4 separate regions of the Homo sapiens genome follow, and all the other regions are linked to region 1. The links are contacts of gene promoters, found by promoter capture Hi-C in blood cells and fetal thymus (Javierre and others, 2016). All regions are on one chromosome and are shown on one strand. Each heading gives the region's core, a stretch centred on a gene start or on the middle of the fragment in contact. The rest is flanking DNA. Distances are from core to core; before and after follow the strand shown. Region 1 holds the start of ADH5 (alcohol dehydrogenase 5 (class III), chi polypeptide). Region 2 has its middle 2.0 kb from the start of C4orf17. Region 3 has its middle 24 kb from the start of ADH7. Region 4 overlaps LOC102723576 (a long non-coding RNA gene).

Evidence for each region. Contacts are between HindIII fragments. The CHiCAGO score rates a contact against its expected background, and 5 or more counts as called.
Region 2: a fragment that was not itself captured here is called in contact with the fragment with the promoter of ADH5 in region 1 in 2 of 17 cell types (activated CD4 T cells and non-activated CD4 T cells); the score reaches 5.6 in activated CD4 T cells.
Region 3: a fragment that was not itself captured here is called in contact with the fragment with the promoter of ADH5 in region 1 in 1 of 17 cell types (M0 macrophages); the score reaches 5.2 in M0 macrophages.
Region 4: a contact is called between a fragment that was not itself captured here and the fragment with the promoter of ADH5 in region 1, in 1 of 17 cell types (megakaryocytes). The highest score is 5.8, in megakaryocytes.

Annotation. Positions count from the first base shown.
Region 1 is chr4:99,087,434-99,090,074 of GRCh38, forward strand. ADH5 (alcohol dehydrogenase 5 (class III), chi polypeptide) reads right to left here and starts at 1,355. Exons shown (of 9, transcript NM_000671.4): 1 at 1,256-1,355. The coding sequence starts at 1,267. LOC100507053 (a long non-coding RNA gene) reads left to right here and starts at 1,424. Exons shown (of 10, transcript NR_037884.1): 1 at 1,424-1,851. RefSeq lists a promoter at 1,300-2,553 and a silencer at 1,338-1,387. The HindIII fragment of the contact is 7,789 bases long and covers 1,083-2,641 here.
Region 2 is chr4:99,507,665-99,510,305 of GRCh38, forward strand. No RefSeq gene overlaps it. Among named protein-coding and RNA genes, the nearest start is that of C4orf17, 2.0 kb to the right of the region's middle. The HindIII fragment of the contact is 2,374 bases long and covers 115-2,488 here.
Region 3 is chr4:99,457,734-99,460,374 of GRCh38, forward strand. No RefSeq gene overlaps it. Among named protein-coding and RNA genes, the nearest start is that of ADH7, 24 kb to the left of the region's middle. The HindIII fragment of the contact is 2,123 bases long and covers 293-2,415 here.
Region 4 is chr4:99,397,305-99,399,945 of GRCh38, forward strand. All of the region lies in intron 3 of LOC102723576 (a long non-coding RNA gene), which reads right to left. Among named protein-coding and RNA genes, the nearest start is that of ADH7, 37 kb to the right of the region's middle. The HindIII fragment of the contact is 208 bases long and covers 1,226-1,433 here.

The DNA of each region.
Region 1 (2,641 bases), core at 105-2,604:
GGTTGGAAATGTGGAAATGATCGTTTTTAAAATTAAATTGCAGATATTAAATCTCATAGTACAAAGAATCAGACACTGCATTAGAACCTTTTTCATTTCAATGTGCCATAAATTTCAACTCCACAAGTCAGATTCAGAATACTAACAATTAAGTTATGCAACATAGGAATCCAAAGAAACAAGAATACTAAATTTGATGGCCTGCTCCCCTTTAAAAAATGTCTTAATGGAGCCTAACCTTTTCCTTTTACTGACAATTCTAAGCAAAACAAAGCCCCACTCTAAATCCGCGGGAAATGGCCCTACTTCAACATTTGAACTATAGTAACAATTATAATCTTTCACCTTCTCTGAATAAAGACACTCAGTAATAAGGAAAAGCAACTACCAGTTTAAGTCTGAAAGACTGTTTAGAGTTTATTTCTTTCAAACTCCAATATGTTTAAGGCCATTTGTCTTACTAGAAAATGTCCAAAATTGCAAAACATTAAAATAATCAGCAACTTTAGACTGAGTATGTTATTCGTAATTTCTGCCTTTCTTTACTGTCTAATTTGTATTTTATGAATTTGTCATAGAGGAGCAGACCTGGGTCGGAATCCCAGCTCGCCATCGTTGGTGTGACCAAGCACAACCAACCTCAAACCTCAGTTTTTGGTAAGATGGGGATAACACCTCGCAGAGGTGTTTGTTACGTGAGGACTAGAGGGAATATAAATCTCTTGGTATTTAAGTGCTCGAAAATGTTTCTGAAAGGGACGTAGGGGTCTTTCCAAAATACACTCCTTGGAGGCACAATAATTAAGGCGTAGGCTCAATTATGCAACACAAGCAACCTAGGAGTTAGAAGCACGGGATCTGGCTGCAGCTCTGCCAAGTATGCAAGCTGCAAGAATGACCCAGAGCGAGTTACTTAATTTCGTGTAAGAAGCAATGCGTGGCCGCTCCTAAGCCATTTCCACTGGGATACCGACCTGACCAGCCCCTGCCCCCCACTCTCCGGCTCTCCCACCCCCCCACCCCGTTCCGACTGTCCCAGAAGCAGCAAAGAAAGCTGCTTCCCAACTGAAGAGCCGAGACAAAGCTTCCTTCTCTTTCTGCCCCTCTGAGCCGCTCGCTGGGGGCCCAGTTTCAGAACCAAGAGCCAGATCCCGTCTTGGGCGCCGAGCCTCGCGCGCCCCCGAGGATAGCAGCCTAGTCCCATGCCATGCACTCCCTCCCTTGGACTCAGGGCCCTCCGCTCAACGGGCCCTACCTCGTTCGCCATGTTCACGGATTCTGGTCGGCGCGGGGGGCTGACATCCGGGGTGGGCCGCGCAGCGACGGAGGCATGGGCGTGGCGAGCGCCTAGCGAGGGGGGCGGGGCGTGGGGGGGGCTTGCAATGGCTCCAACCGGAAGGGCGGTGCTCGAGCTGTGGTGCGTGCCGCTAAGTTGTGCGTTCCAGGGTGCACTCGCCGGCGAGGCTGCACGGCGCCGGTTTCATTGCTAAAATCCGACGGACTTGTTGCAGAACTCGTTTTTTTTGTCGGGAAAGGGCTTCCCCGTGTAACTTTACAGCAGTTATCGTAGATAAGACTTGCAAATTACAGATGTGGACGGTGAGGGAACGGGAATTTCACTGAAAGCGCCTGAGAACCAGTAAGAGACCTGCAACAGCTTTGTGCTCCACTGGCGAATGCTTCCTCCCCTAATACACATTATGTGTGCTTGGAGACACAAGGAGTAAGATACAGCCCCTCAAGGGACTCGTCATAGGGAGAGGACACAGCTTTGGGAATAAAGGGGCCACAAAGGAGGAGAGAGGAGTTTGCTGAAACTTCCCAAGCTCCCATTCCAGCAGTTCCTGAAGGGTAGGTAGGATTTTGGGGAGACAGTAGAACGTGGGCAGAGAACTTTGGAAGGAGGAGATGAGGAGAACAAAAAGTCTCCTGATCCTGGACAGTTTTTTGTGTTAAGAGTGGGCCAGAGTGTAGAGAGAGAGAATGTAGTATTTGTCGGTTTACTCTTTCTTTGTTTGTTTGAGACGGAGTCTCGCACTGTCGCCCAGGCTGGAGTGCAGTGGCGCGATCTCGGGTCACTGCAACCTCCGCCTCCTAGGTTCAAGTGATTCTCGTGCCTCAGCCTCCTGAGTAGTTGGGATCACAGGCACACGCCACCACGCTGGCTCAATTTTGTATTTTTAGTAGAGATTGGGAGTGGGGGCAGGGGGTTGGTCTCACCATGTATGCCAGTCTGGTCTTGAACTCCTAACCTCAAGTGATTCACCCACCTCAGCCTCCCAAAGTGCTGGGATTACGGGCATGAGCCACCGCACCTGGCCTGCCAGTTTACTCTTAAACTCTGTTGTAAACGCTGAATTTTGTTAAAATAGCTCTGTCAGACACACTGCTCTTTTCTGTCTTTCAGTCTTTTTCTTGGCTCTTTTCCGGGTACATATGGTAAGATTGTCCAAAGTCTTTCCGTCCTTTCACTCCACTCTCTCACTCACACTTTGGCTTTTAACGTCTATTTATGGAAAGATGACTACCAGATTATTATCTCCAATCAGGATGGCTCCCCTAAACTCCAGACTTGGACATGTAACTGCCTACTGGATTTCTGTCTCCATTAGGATATCTCACAATCGAATGCAACTCCTAA
Region 2 (2,641 bases), core at 52-2,551, 420 kb after region 1:
AGGGTCTTGCTATGTTGCTCAGGCTGCTCTTGACCTCCTGGCTTCAAATAATCCTCCCACCTCAGTCTTCCAAAACACTGAGATTACAGGTATAAGCCACCATGCCTGGCCTGAAGCTTTATATTTTCTATCTATCCAATGTGAACCCAGATTTTGCCCCATGAAGAGAACTCTAAGGGTGTATTCACCTTTTTTGAAGAGCTTCTTTTTAATTCTTTTGAAGTTTTGAGTTACTCATATTCTTAGAGGAAGGTATGACTAACAGGAAGTCTTTGGAAAAGGCTGGGTGAGAACTGTCAAAAGGCTGCAATCAAGATATGTGCTGTGGCTTGGGTCTTCTTCTGAGGTCTTCTCCCAAGCTCTCATGGTTGTTTGCAGGTTCATTTCCTCCCAGCTTGAGAACTTGTAATGCCTTGCTTTTTTAAAGTAAGCAAGGGAGCATCTCTGATAGTGGGGAAGGCCTAAATCTTCTTTTAAAGGGCTTATCTGATTAGTTTGGGACAGACCAAAATAATCTCCTTTTGATTAACAGAGATTGATAAACTCAAAGTCATTCTGATTAGGGACTTTATATCTGTAAAATCTCTTCATCTTTGCCAGAAAATGCAAACTAATTGCAGGAGTGATATTTATCATATTAACAGGTCTACCCACACTCAAGAGAAGGCGATAACACAGAGTATGTACACCATGGGGAGGAAATCTTGGCAGCCATTGTAGAATTCTTTCTATGACACTTATGTCAGCATTTTTGTTGTACTCTGGAGATCACAGAGTGAAAAGCACCATTTTCTGTGATTGTAGATATTTGTTACAAATTCGAGACTGAAACATATGCTTTCAAAATTGACAGAACAGAATATAGGGTGGTCAAGGCACCAGACGAAATTAAATTTTATTCTTCCATTATGTTAAATTAGCATCTTTTCCTTTCCGAAATCACTTACATTGCTTTCTCATATGTTAATCAGACACCTGTGGCATTTTTATAGTAAATGCAAAGTGAGGATTTTAGGTGATCAAAATGAATAGGCCTAACTAGTTCACAGCTTTGAGATGTGGCCACACTGCTTATTCATGGAGAGAACAGAGCTTACAGAGTATCCTGCATATTTACACTTGTATCAATCAGCTTGTGCTGCCATCACAGAATACAACAGACTGAGTGGCTTCAACAACAGAAATTTATATGTTCAAAGTTCTGGAGGCTGAATGTCCAAGATCAAGGTACTGGCAGGCTTAGTTTTTGGTGAAGCCTTGTCTTAGTCAAATTGGGCTGCTATAACAAAATACCCTAGACTGGGCAGCTTAGAAACAATAGAAACTTATTTCTTACAGTTATGGAAGCTGGTAAGGTTAAGAACAAGGCACTGGCAGATTGAATGTCTGCTGAGGGGCCACTTTCTGGTGATAGATGTCCCCTTCTTCCTTTGTCCTAACATGGCCAGCTCATGCAAGGAGACAGAGAGGGCTCTGGTGTTTCTTCCTTTTCATGTAAGAACACCAGTCCTATAAGATTAGGGTCCAACCCTTATAATCTTATTTAAACTTAATCATCTCCTTGAGGGCCCCATCTGTAAATACAGTCACATTGGGGGTTAGAGATTAAGATACGAATTTGTTGGGGGACACAACTCAGTCCATAACAATTTTCAAAATATCTGTGGGCAATGAAAAACCTGTGGATTTCCTGCTTATCATGACCCCAGATAAGTTTAAAAATCACTAATTACCATTCATAAATATATGCACATATTCCAAAAAAACTTTCCATCTGTTTTCTTTGCTAAAATAATAGAGTATCCAAGGCAACAAGGATACCTGTGCTACCCTGAGCAGTGCAGCAGAGCAACCTCTGTCTTTTTGATTCTGACAAAATTAATGCAAACAAGCCAGTTGTATCATTTTTTTCCTAGTAATGAGACAGGAAAATTCCCCATGGGGCTTCATAAATGGAAAATAACATAGTTACATAGCCAAGTACATGTTTATCTCTAGTGACCCTCTCTAAGGGAAAGCACAGCACACAGAGTGTAGACTTCTCCTACCCAGAGTTAGGTATTAATGTCAGGATCTGTGGTTGAGATTGCTTTTTATAACCCGATTTATACTTTCTCCCTCTCTTGTTAGAGCCCCTGTTTTAGAATGGGGTGTCAATGTGCCCTGTTAAGAAACTACATTTTCTATCCTTTCTTGTAGCTATAAATCATCAATGCAACATAGATTATTGTCTGAGACTCATGAGAAGGCTCTTACAAAGAGAGCAGATAGCTAGCATGTGCCCTTGTCAGCCCTTACCTCCCCAACCTTCCTCTTGTTTCCTGCTTGGAGTACAGATTTGATATGTGCAAATATAGCAGCCATCTTGGATGACTGGAACTTCAGGAACCATCTTGAACAAGGGATAATTTCAAAAATGGAAGCCTAATATTAAGAAAGATGGACCTAAAACATAGATGAAGCCAAGGTCCATAATGATGCTTCATAAAGCTTCCATACCAACCCTAGATGGTTGAACTCTTCCATGTGAGGAAGAAATACACATCTATCTTACTTAGAACACTATTTCTGATCTCTGTTATTAGCTGTGTAATAAAGTTTCTCAACTGATACAAAGTGAAAACTAAAAATCTCAGAATAC
Region 3 (2,641 bases), core at 104-2,603, 370 kb after region 1:
ATAAATGCTATTAAAATGCCCAATCATAGAATTGCCCCTGCTTCCTGACAGCATCCAATCCCAGGCAAAGCTCCACTTCCTTAAACCCTTTGCAGACTCATCTAACACAAGCACAACTCTTATAATAACTTCTTTCTGGCATCCTCTTATGAGATACCTTACAGTTCCCAAAGGCATGTTGTCTCTTGTTACAACAAGCAAATAAACCCAAATCTTTCTTTGATTTCAGGTGTCTCCCTGGTGGACTTCAACTAAAGTCATCAAAAGTAGTTTGGAGTTGTATTGGACAATAAGCTTTCTGCACTATGCATAAATGAAAATCAATTCAAGCTGTTAAGAGATATGATTACACAAATGTTAGCTAATATTTATTGAATGTTTACCATGTGCCAGATGCAGGGCTAAGAGCTTTACATGCATTATATCGTTTCATTTTTATGAAATAACTTTATGAAGTGGTTGATATTAGTATTCCCATATCACAGATAAGTAAATTGAAGGGTTGCGAGGTTAAGTAACTAATCCAATATCACACAGCTAAGCAGCAGTGGAATCTGAATCCAGACTTTATCAAGACCAATATTTCTAACTATTAATAGATTATCCCCCACCAATGTGTATCATAATACTGACTTAAATCTAACAGCCAGTGATTCCATATCTCCTCAGCCTGATAGCCAACTAACTTAGCACCCCACTAACTGGCACTGTCTGGAGTTCTACCTTTTCCAATCATCTAGAAACAGATTTCACATGTTCTTTATTGATTCCCTCAGGGACAGCACAAGGGAAGAATGGTAAGAATTTTATGGCTAAAGCAATTTTGAAAACCACGTATGTAACCTTCTCTTCTATAACAGTCACAAATCTGGATTCCAAATCCTGTACGGACTCGAATTCTTAGGATATTTAAATGCAGAAACTTTTTCTTGGAAATAAAGTATACATTGTATTTCTTTTTCTAATCCAGTAAGTCATCACAAGAAGAAATAATCAATATATTAAATGATTTTACTGTTTCTTATTTGTTTCTATGTATTACTTTTCACAAAAGGTAATTTCCCCCCACAGCTGGAAAAATAAAGGAGCAGAGGCCTGGAGACTCTTGGCATGGCCGAGGAGCACAGGAGGTGAGGACAGCCTTGGGGTAAAGGACAGCCGCCGAGGAAGATGAGCTGCTTCCAGGGAACAGACTCTGAGAGAAGAGGTGTACACATTTTAACCAAAAGAAGAAAACCAGGAAATTGGAGTTGTCTGAATGAACAATCATTCCTAAGGAACGCTGTGAGGTGAAACCTGATTCCTGTTTCAGACTCCCCCAACACCTTCCTGTCTCTGCCCTAGTCTGCAAAGATTCTTAACTATCATTCCTTCATTCCACTCATTCATTTAGCTACCGATTATCCTAACAGTGGCGCAACATTGTAGTATGTGCAACATAAAAGACACATTACAGTAGGGCAGAAAACATAAGACATTGTCCTATGAAAAGTTTCGTAAGACGATAAGCAGCTAACATTAATTAATCAAACAAGGAGTATTGTATTAATTCAGAGGCAAGAGCACTGGAATCTGGGATGGGCTTGGGAACAGGTGAGCTCACAGAATGACTCTTGCCTGTGGCTAGTGCCATATATAATTATGCATGTTTAGTCATGAATCTCCTGTTTCCTTGGTTTCTGCCTTGTCTGCCCGCTAGATTGCCTCACACAACACAGGGTCTCAAAAGTAGAGCTCCCTCCTTGAAATGTTTTGAGATCCAGGTCTTTCTTATATCCTCTCCCCTGACTTATATCCCTCCTTCTGTTCTTGTTTTGCTCCGTGTGAGGAGAGAGCTCGCCAACCCATCTGACCAACGAATTTGGGCTCATGGATTAAAATGGCACCACGCTAGGAAATGTGCCAGCTAAAGATTGATTCTATTATTGGGACTTTGAGAAAGGCATCGAGTCAGTCTGAGGCAGTCATACCATGGTTGCACTATATGCTGCCTATTCTGTTCCTTTGGAGAGCCCAGCTTCAGGAACCCCACCTCAGTTTATGTTAAAACATAGCCCTGTGTAAATGTAGCTTTCTCCATCCACCCCAGTGGAGGAGTGAAAGTCAACAAAACAAATTAGGTAAGTCTAAATTGATTCAGCAAGACAGGCCAATTATTAACTTATTTTGAGTGCACTATCATATTGGAGTAGTTCCTTTTAAAGAGAAAAATGAGAGAAGACTGAGAAACATCAATGTTTTTAATACTTTGAATTATCATGTTATAAAAATGATTTATCTAAAAATATTAACTATATTTTTTCTTCTTACTCTTTTAGGTCTTTCTAGATAAAATTATTTGCTTAGTCATTTTCAGTTTGGTTCATTTTCAGTGTTTCATGGTGAAAAGAAAACAGGTTTTGGAGTTAGAATCTAAGCTTGACCAGGTACTAACTATGTACCTTGAAAAAGGTACTGCATTTTTCAGAGACCCAGTAAATAAGGCATGTCTTAAAGAGGTATTATAAATGTAGAATAACATAATGAAGTTAAAGTGCACACTGTAATAGGTACTTACTAGGACAGTTTTATTTGTGATTGCTAATCATTATTTTGGAGGGTAATACCTTTCATTTTTCAACCAAAGTACCTAAAGATTATA
Region 4 (2,641 bases), core at 80-2,579, 310 kb after region 1:
ACGGATGCAAAAATTATCACCAAAATACTAGCAAACAGAATTCAGAAACACATTAACAAGGTCATTCATCATGATCAAGTGAGATTTGTCCCATAGCTTCAAGGATGGTTCAACATATGCAAATCAATCAATGTGATACATCATATCAACAGAATGAAGGACAAAAATCATATGATCGTTTCCATGGAAGCTGAAAAAGCATTGATAAAATTCAATATTGCATCATGAGATGTTGAAAATCCTGAAAAAACTGGGCATAGAAGGAATGTACCTCAACATAATAAAAGCTATATACGACAGACCCATAGCTAGTATCCTACTGAATGGAGAAAAGCTGAAAGCCTTTCCTCTAAGGTCAGGAACATGATAAAGCTGCCCATTTTTACCACCATTATTCAACATAGTACTGAAATCCTAGCTAGAGTAATCAGACAAAAGAAAGAAAGAAAGGGCATCAAATTGAAAGGAAGAATTCAAATTTATCCTTGTTTGCCCATAATATGATCTTATATTTGGAAAAGCCTAAAGGCTCCAACAAAGAAACTATTAGAACTGATAAACAAATTCAGTAAAGTTTCAGGATACAAAATAAACATACAAAATCAGTAGCATTTCTATACACCAACAGCAAACAATCTGAAACAGAAATCAAGAAAGTAATCTTATTTACAAAAGCAACAAATAAAATAAAATAAAATACCAAGGAATTAACCAAAGAAGTGAAAGATCTCTACAATGAAAAGTATAAAACACTGATGCAAGAAATTGAAGATGCTACAAAAAAATGAAAAGACATTTCATGTTCATGCATTGGAAGAATCAATATTGTTAAAATGTTCATACTACCCAAAGCAGTCTACAGATTCAGTGCAATCCCTATCAAAATACCAGACATTCTTCACAGAAATGGAAAAAACAATCCTGAAATTTATATTGAACCACAGAAGCCCCAGAATAGCCAAAGCTATCCTAAGCTAAAGAAGTGAAGGAATCACATTACCTGACTTTAAATTATAGCACAGAGCTATAATAAGCAAAACAGCATGGTACTGCCATAAAAACAAACAAAAAGACCAATGGAACAGCATAGAGAACTCAGAAACAAATTCATACATCTAGAGTGAACTAATTTTTGATGAAGCCACCAATATCATACATTGGGGAAAGGAGAGTTTCTTCAATAAATAGTTCTGGGAAAAATGGATATCCATATGCAAAAGAATAAAGCTTGACCCCTATCTCTGACTATATACAAAAATAAAATCAAAATGTATTAAATACGTAAATCTAAGGCCTCAAATTATGGAATTACTAAATGAAAACTTTCAGGAAAGTCTCCAAGACGTTGGAGTGGGCAAAGATTTCTTGAGTAATACCCCACAAGCACAGGCAACCAAAGCAAAAACAGACAAATGGGAACACAAAAGGTAAAAAGCTTCTGCACAGCAAAAGAAACAATCAACAAAATGAAGAGTCAATCCACAGAGTGAGAGAAAATATTTGCAATCTACCCATCTGACAAGAGATTAATAACCAGAATAAATGAGGAGCTCAAACAATTCTATAGGAAAAAATTTAATAATCCAATTAAAACATGGGCAAAAGGTCTGAGTAGACATATCTCAAAAGAAGACATACAGATGGCAATCAGCTATATGAAAAGGTGCTTAACATCATTCATCATAAGATAAATGCAAATCAAAACCTCAAGGAGATGCCCTCTCCAGTTAAAATGGCTTTATTCAAAGGCAGGAAATAACAAATTCTAGCAAGGATGTGAAGAAAAGGGAACCCTTGTAAACTGTTAGTGGGGATGTAAATTAGTACAACTCCTAAGCAGAACAGTTTGTCGGTTCCTAAACAAACTAAAAATAGAGTTGCCATATGATCCAGCAGTCTCACTGTTGTGTATACACCCAAAATAAAAGAAATCAGGATATCAAAGAGATATGTGCATTCCCATGTTTGTTGTGGTACTCTTCACAGTGGCCAAGATTTGGAAGCAACCCAAGTGTCCATCAACAAATGAATGGATAAAGAAAATGTGAGGCTGGGTGTGGTGGCTCATGCCTTTTATCTTACCACTTTGGGAGGCAAAGGCAGGAGAACTGCTTGAGTCCAGGAGTTTGAGACCAATGTGGGCAAGATGGCAAGGCCCCATCTCTACATTTTTGTTTTTGTTTTTGTTGTTTAATTACCCAGGCATGGTGGCTCACATCTCTAGACCCAGCTACTCAGGATGCTGAGGCAGTAGGATCCCTTGAGCCTGGGAGTTCAAGGTGGCAGTGAGCCATGATCACACCACTGTACTCCAGCCTGGGTGACAAAGCAAGACCCCATCTTTTAAGAAAAAAAAAAGAAAAGAAAGAAACTGTGGTACATATACACAATGGGGTACTGTTCAGCCATAAAAAATGAGATCCTGTCATTTGCAACAACACTGATGGAACTGGACATCATTATGTAAAGTGAAATAAGCCAGTCACCGAAAGACCCAAACTTCACATGTTTTCACTTATTTGTGGGAGCTAAAAATTAAAACAATTGAATTCATGGAGATAGAGTAGAAAGATGGCTACCAGATGCTGAGAAGGGTAATGGGCGGATCAGGGGAAGTGGGGATGGTAGGTACCAAAATATT